Regions from separate parts of the Homo sapiens genome. Here region 2 is linked to region 1. The links are contacts of gene promoters, found by promoter capture Hi-C in human tissues and cell types (Jung and others, 2019). All regions are on one chromosome and are shown on one strand. Each heading gives the region's core, a stretch centred on a gene start or on the middle of the fragment in contact. The rest is flanking DNA. Distances are from core to core; before and after follow the strand shown.

The links. The method cuts DNA at HindIII sites, captures the fragments that hold promoters and counts their contacts. A contact is called where the count stands out against the background at its distance.
Region 2: a fragment that was not itself captured here is called in contact with the fragment with the promoter of EIF3A in region 1 in 1 of the 25 tissues and cell types used here (dorsolateral prefrontal cortex).

What each region holds. Positions count from the first base shown.
Region 1 is chr10:119,079,311-119,082,809 of GRCh38, reverse strand. EIF3A (eukaryotic translation initiation factor 3 subunit A) reads left to right here and starts at 1,993. Exons shown (of 22, transcript NM_003750.4): 1 at 1,993-2,182. The coding sequence starts at 2,134. RefSeq lists enhancers at 1,779-2,073, 1,501-2,263 and a silencer at 2,269-2,528. The HindIII fragment of the contact is 11,678 bases long and covers 1-3,499 here.
Region 2 is chr10:118,759,239-118,762,737 of GRCh38, reverse strand. LOC107987151 (a long non-coding RNA gene) reads left to right here and starts at 3,289. Exons shown (of 2, transcript XR_001747604.3): 1 at 3,289-3,499. The HindIII fragment of the contact is 5,852 bases long and covers 1-3,499 here.

The DNA.
Region 1 (3,499 bases), core at 744-3,243:
TTTATAGTGATCAATTTAGATAAATAGAAAAACCTCTCCTGTAGTAGAACAGTTCATGTTGAAAAATAAAAAAACAAAACAAAACCATCTTTGTGGAGGCAGAAGTAATGAGGGGGAAATGCTTTTTGTGTGTATATCCTGTGGTTTTCTCATTCTTTTTTTTTTTTTTTCTTTTTTTGAGACGGAGTCTCCCTCTGTCGCCCAGGCTGGAGTGCAGTGGCCTGATCTTGGCTCACTGCAACTTTTGCCTCCCGGGTTCAAGCGATTCTCCTGTCTCAGCCTCCCGAGTAGCTGGGATTACAGGCGCCCACCACAGCGCCCGGCTAATTTTTTTTTTTTTTGAGACGGAGTCTCGCCCTGTCACCCAGGCTGGAGCGCAGTGGCACGATCTAGGCTCACTGCAACCTCTGCCTCCCGGGTTCAAGCGATTCTCCTGTCTCAGCCTCCCGAGTAGCTGGGATTACAGGCGTTCGCCACCACGTCCAGCTAATTTTTTGTAACTTTAGTAGAGACGGGGGGGGGGGTTTCACCACTTTGGTCAGGCTGGTCTCGAACTCCTGACCTCGTGATCCGCCCGCCTCGGCCTCCCAAAGCGCCTGGATTACAGGCGTGAGCCACCACGCCAGGCCTAAGTTTTGTATTTTTAGTAGAGACGGGGTTTCGCCATGTTGGCCAAGCTGGTCTCGAACTCCTGACCTCAGGTGATCCACCCGCCCCAGCCACCCAAAGTGCTGGGATTACAGGCGCGACCCACCATGCCCGGCCGATTTCCTCATTCATTAATTCACATATCTCGTCTATTAAATGTGTAATACATTGACAATAATCTATTTCACTGCTGCCTTCTAAATTTTCCTTCTGGGCTGGGCGCGGTGGCTCACGCCTGTAATCCCAGCACTTTGGGAGGCCGAGGAGGGCGGATCACGAGGTCAGGAGATCGAGACCACGGCGAAACCCCGTCTCTACTAAAAATACAAAACATTAGCTGGGCGCAGTGGCGGGCGCCTGTAGTCCCAGCTACTCGGGAGGCTGAGGCAGGAGAATGGCGTGAATCCAGAAGGCGGAGCTTGCAGTGAGCCGAGATCGTGCCACTGCACTCCAGCCTGGGCGACAAAGCGAGACTCCGTTTCAAAAAAAAAAAAAATTTTTTTCCTTCTGAGCTCACCTTTATTTCGTACCAAGGGCTTGAGAATTAGATTCGGTTCAAATGGTTTTCAAATTCTAGGTAAAGTACTTCGTCTGCGAACATTAAAATTGTTAAGCAACAATAAAAGGGCCTCTCAGATTGATTTTTTTCACTAACACTAATTTTTCTTAATTTGTTTGTGACGTGCGCTGTATGTAAAAAGTGACGACACTCCTTTCCGTGTGTTTTCAAACACCAAGCAAGTCTGCTGTGCTCCAGGGCGTTTCGCCCTTTGCCAGGTCGCTGTCCCCATTCGCCCCCTCTGAGAGCCTCCATTTCTCAAGGCAATCCCTGTGACACAAACTTTTTACTTTACCAAGATATAAAAGAACCTTGCTTGTTTATTTTAGGCGTCACTCTTCCCCATGATTGTCTCTCACGGTTGAGCGGCGCTGACCTGATGACACCTGCTCACTGCGTTTTCGTTAAACTCAGCATTTTCACGTAGCCAAGACAGGCGATTCCCAGGCTGGATGGGACCTTACTGTAACTGCACGACTCCGCACAAGTCGCTTTGAAAACCAATCTGCAGACGTTTGCTTGTTCTCCAGACAGAAACTCTGACCCCACACTCACCCTTCCCACCCTAATTCTCGCTCGAAGATTGAAGAGCCTGTGAACTGTCTCCCTAACGCTATCCAGGACAGGCCCAAGACGGGAACTGGACCTTGCGCGCCTAGGACTCCGGCGCCGCCACGTCTGTCGGCGTGCGTGACGCCAGCGCGCTTGCGCGCACGGAGACCCGCCCCCTACATCCGGGGCCTGGGCGGCAGCAGGGCCGCCGCGGGGAGGTCACGTGGCTCCTTCCTTTCCGTCTCTGGCCGGCTGGGCGCGGGCGACTGCTGGCGAGGCGCGTGGGACCTTACGCTGGTTCCCCTTCGTCTCCTCTCCCGGCCCGGGCCACTAGAGAGTTCGCTGACGCCGGGTGAGCTGAGCCTGCCGCCAAGATGCCGGCCTATTTTCAGAGGCCGGAAAATGCCCTCAAACGCGCCAACGGTGAGTAGCTGATCGGGGCGCGCCGGGCTGGGGCGGCCCGAGGCCTCCGAGGTCGAGAGCGCGGGCCTGCTTCCCACTGCTCCGCCGCCCGGCCCGCGCGGGGAGAGGAGACCGATGCGGCCTGCCCGCCGCTGTCCCAGCCGGTGGTTGGGCATGGGTTTCCTTCTCACTCTATCGACTGGGGTCTGGGAGGCGCGTAGCCCGGAACCGTCGCCCCAGGGGCCTTTCCTTCCCCCTGCCGCCTCCGGGTGCGTCGCGGGGACCGCAGCCCGGGAGACAGCCCCTACCCGGACTGGAGCTCCCTCCTTGCTGCCTGCGTCCTCTGGCTCTCCAGGTCCCTGGGGCTTTGGTCTGCTTAGGGCCCGCGTCCCCGGCCGCCATCTGGGAGTGCCGGGGAGTAAGAAACATGGCTCCCTCCCGGGGACAATGCACGCGAGAGCCTCGGCTCCACCTCCTGCCCGGGCCGGGAGCCCTACGGACCCACCCCCGGCCTTCCCGCAGCCACCCCCGCTCTCCAAGCCGCGCTCAGTGCTTTGCTGGGTCGGCGTCCACTTACCCTTTACCCAGCTGCTTTATATCCACTTAGGGGCCTCTGACCCATTTAACCTGATTCCTGTTGTTTTGTTTTGTTTTTGTTTTTTCATTTTTCCTGGCATTGATTAGAAGCAGTCCTAAAGCCTGTTTCGAATCACTGGAAGTTGGAATAGAGTTAATGTAAAGGGACTTCAGGTCGCCTCTTAAAGATAACGAAACAGGCCTAGAGAGAGGTTTCCCCAAGGTCACTCCGGGAGTTGTTGAGCCAAGAGACTTAAAACCAACGTCTCTTGACATCCAGATCAGTCCTTTTTTCTCTTTTTTTCTGCCACAGTGCTGCTGTCTGCGATTTCTATTTCTATATGTGTACTTCAGCCATTGGCGCTTGAGGGAAAAACTTGTGTGCCCCGATCTCTCCAAGGCATTTATTACATTGGCGTTCTGGGGATGCACATGTTCTTGGCTAGGCTCTGGGCTTAAGAAACTTTGTGTAGGGTTTTTTTTTTCCCCTCTAACCGGACAATTTTTCTAATCGTTAGGGCATGGATAGCTCTTATTTTCATCCTTCCTTCACCGAAATAGAAGTTTCGGGTTTTACCCATGTTGTAGATGAATATACCTTGTGAGTTACAGTTTTATGTTTGGAGAGCTTATTTTGTTAGCTTCTTTGAAAATTCATCTTATGAAAATGGCAGTTTGAGTCAGCACATAAACTGATAATTTGGCAGAACCAGAGATATGTTGGTCATATACTTTTTAAAGTAAAAGTAACACTTTTTGTCG
Region 2 (3,499 bases), core at 266-2,765, 320 kb after region 1:
AGTAAAAGAATTCTCTCAGTAATGCCCAGTCATGGCATTCTTTCCTAGCGTTTGTCATGCTTTGGCTCATGTGGTTGTTTAGTGCTTGATACCCTCATGGAATGGAAACTCCATGAGGAGCAGAGTGCTTTTTGTCTGTTTACTTTTTTTTTTTTTTTTTTTGAGACAGGTCTCACTCTGTCACCCAGGCTGCAGTGCAGTGGTGTGATCTTGGCTCACTGCAGCCTCCCCCTCTGAACTCAAGTGATCCTCCCACCTCAGTCTCCTGAGTAGCTGGGACTACAGGAACACTCCACCATGCCCAGCTAATTTTTGTATTTTTCACAGAGACAGGGTTTCACCATGTTGCCCAAACTGGTCTTGAACTCCTGGGCTCAAGTGATCCTCCTGCCTCAGGCTCTCAAAGTGTTGGGTTTACAGGCGTGAGCCATGCACCCAGCTATCTGTTTACTCTTATAGCCCCCGCACAGTACCTGAACACAGAAATATTGGTGAATGACTGAGTGAAAGGGACAGGCCTGCAATGAAGTGTCGACATAACTCCCCGTCTCTTGCCTGCTTGTTTTCCCCCAACCTCCTTCAGCCTCAAGTCATTTCCTTCAGCTCCTAAATTCATCAGGCTTATGAGAGAATCTGCATCATTTCCTCTGTTTCCCTGCTAGGATGGAATTTAGAATTCAGATGCTAAGATGTAAAAGGAAGGAATAAAATTGAACATGGAAAGAAATACTGAATACAGAATACTCCCCCGAGTGGCTACCCATCTTCACTGTAATCAGTAATCTCAGTGTGCAACTGTTGAGGCTTGAGTTTACACGGCAATAATCCTCTTACCTTCTAATCAAGATCACTCCAATAGCTTTGCAGTTAGACTTCCAACTGCATTATGCATTCACAAATTATTTCTTTGTCAATGCTGTATTGGTACAATTCTAATCTCCTAGGGATTAAACACAAGTATTCATTCTTCTTTATCCTAATATAGTTTATCTCCATCAAAGTTGAATTTTTATGTTTTCCATGCTAATTCCTTTGTGTAATTAATAGTCCATTTAAAATGAATAGCAATTAAGAGAAAACACCTATATGTCTGTATGTTGTCTACTACAGTCTTTTCTGATTCAATGAGTTCTTGACTACTTAGAAGAGGCATGTATAATTTTTGGATTTTTCTCATATATTTTTTCTCCTCTTCTTTCCTCTTATTCACTTCTGAGCAATTTCATCCTTTACTAACAATGCCACAAATGCCAGGTTGGTATGATAGATGAAAAGATGTAAAAATTGCAATAATACTTTCTCTCAGGGACTAATGTATCGCATAGTACATGCTATGCTGTCAGAGTTGACCAAAGAAGAAAAGTCTTTTCAGCCAGGTACCATGGGCCACACCTGTAATACCAGCACTTTGAGAGGACAAGGTGAGCCCAGGAGTTTGAGACCAGCCTGGGCAACGTGGTGAAACTTCATCTCTACAAAAGTTACAAAACTTAGCTGGGCATGGTGGTGCACACCTGTAGTCCCAGCTACTTGAGAGGCTGAGGTGGAAGGATCGCTTGAGCCTGGGGGGTCAAAACTGCAGTGAGCCATGATCATGCCACTGCACTCCAGCCTGGGCAACGGAGCAAGACCTTATCTCAAAAAGAAAAACGTCTTTTGATATAAAATAGGATTTCAAGTAGATTTAAGCTAGTCATACACTTATTCATTAAAAAGTATTGAACAATTACAAATAAATATTGTTTGGGAAAGTGACAATGTATTTAAAGCCGTACAAAGACTAATTCTTAGTGACCAAGTCTCTGTAGCCCACCCCCCCCCAATGTTTTAACTATTTTAGACAATTGGCCACATGGCATTTCATAATTAAACAAACATGGGTTATGTCTTTTATTTTTATTTTTTTTTAAGATGGAGTGTCACTCTGTCTCCCAGGCTGGAGTGCAGCGGCATGATCTCGGCTTACTGCAACCTCCGTCTCCCAGGTTCAAGTGATTCTTCTGCCTCAGCCTCCCAAGTAGCTGGTGAGAGGTGACAGCGTGCTGGCAGCCCTCACAGTCCTCGCTCGCTCTCCGCACATCCTCTGCCTGGGCTCCCACTTTGGCGGCACTTGAGGAGCACTTCAGCCCGCGGCTGCACTGTGGGAGCCCCTTCCTGGGCTGGCCGAGGCCGGAGCCGGCACCCTCAGCTTGAGGGGAGGTGTGGAGGGAGAGGCGCGGGCGGGAACCGGGGCTTCCCGTGATGCTTGTGGGCCAGCGCGAGTTCCGGGTAGGCTTGGGCTCGGCGGTCCCCGCGCTCGGAGCGGCCAGCGGGCCCCGCCGGCCCCGGGCAGTGAGGGGCTTAGCACCTGGGCTGGCGGCGGCGGAGGGTGTAGTGGGTCCCCCAGCAGTGCCGGCCCACCAGCGCTGCGCTCAATTTCTCGCCGGGCCATAGCTGCCTTCCCGCGGGGCAGGGCTCAGGACCTACAGCCCGTCATGCCTTAGCCTGCCCCCGCCTCCGTGGGCTCCTGTGCAGCCCCAGCCTCCCAGACGAGCACCGCTCTCTGCTCCACGGCGCCTAGTCCCATTGACCACCCAAGGGCTGAGGAGTGTGGGCGCAGGGCGCGGGACTGGCAGGCAGCTCCACCTGCAGCCCTCTTGCTGGATCCACTGGGTGAAGCCAGCTGGGCTCCTGAGTCTGGTGGGGACTTGGAGAACCTTTATGTCTAGCTAAGGGATTGTAAATACACCAATCAGCACCCTGTGTCTAGCTCAGGGTTTGTGAATGCACCAATCCACACTCTGTATCTAGCTAGTCTGGTGGGGACTTGGAGAACCTTTATGTCTAGCAAAGGGATTGTATATACACCAATCAGCACCCTGTGTCTAGCTCAGGGTTTGTAAATGCACCAATCAACACTCTGTATCTAGCTAGTCTGGTGGGGCCTTGGAGAAACTTTATGTCTAGCTACGGGATTGTAAATACACCAATCAGCACCCTGTGTCTAGCTCAAGGTTTGTAAACACACCAATCAGCACCCTGTGTCTAGCTCAGGGTTTGTGAATGCACCAATTGACACTCTGTATCTAGCTACTCTGGTGGGGACTTGGAGAGCCTTTGTGTCCACACTCTGTATCTAGCTAATCTATTGGGGACTTGGAGAACCTTTGTGTCTAGCTCAGGGATTGTAAACGCACCAATCAGTGCCCTGTCAAAACAGACCACTCGGCTCTCTGTAAAATGGACCAATCAGCAGGATGGGGGTGGGGCCAGATAAGAGAATAAAAGCAGGCTGCCGGAGCCTGCAGTGGCAACCCGCCCCCGTCCCTTTCAACACTGTGGAAGCTTTGTTTTTTCACTCTTTGCAATATATCTTGCTGCTGCTCACTCTTTGGGTCTACACTGCTTTTATGAGCTATAACACTCACTGTGAAGGTCTGCAGCTTCACTCCTGAGCCAGCGAGACCATGATCCCAGCAGAAGGAAGAAACTCCGAACACATCCGAACATCAGAAGGAAC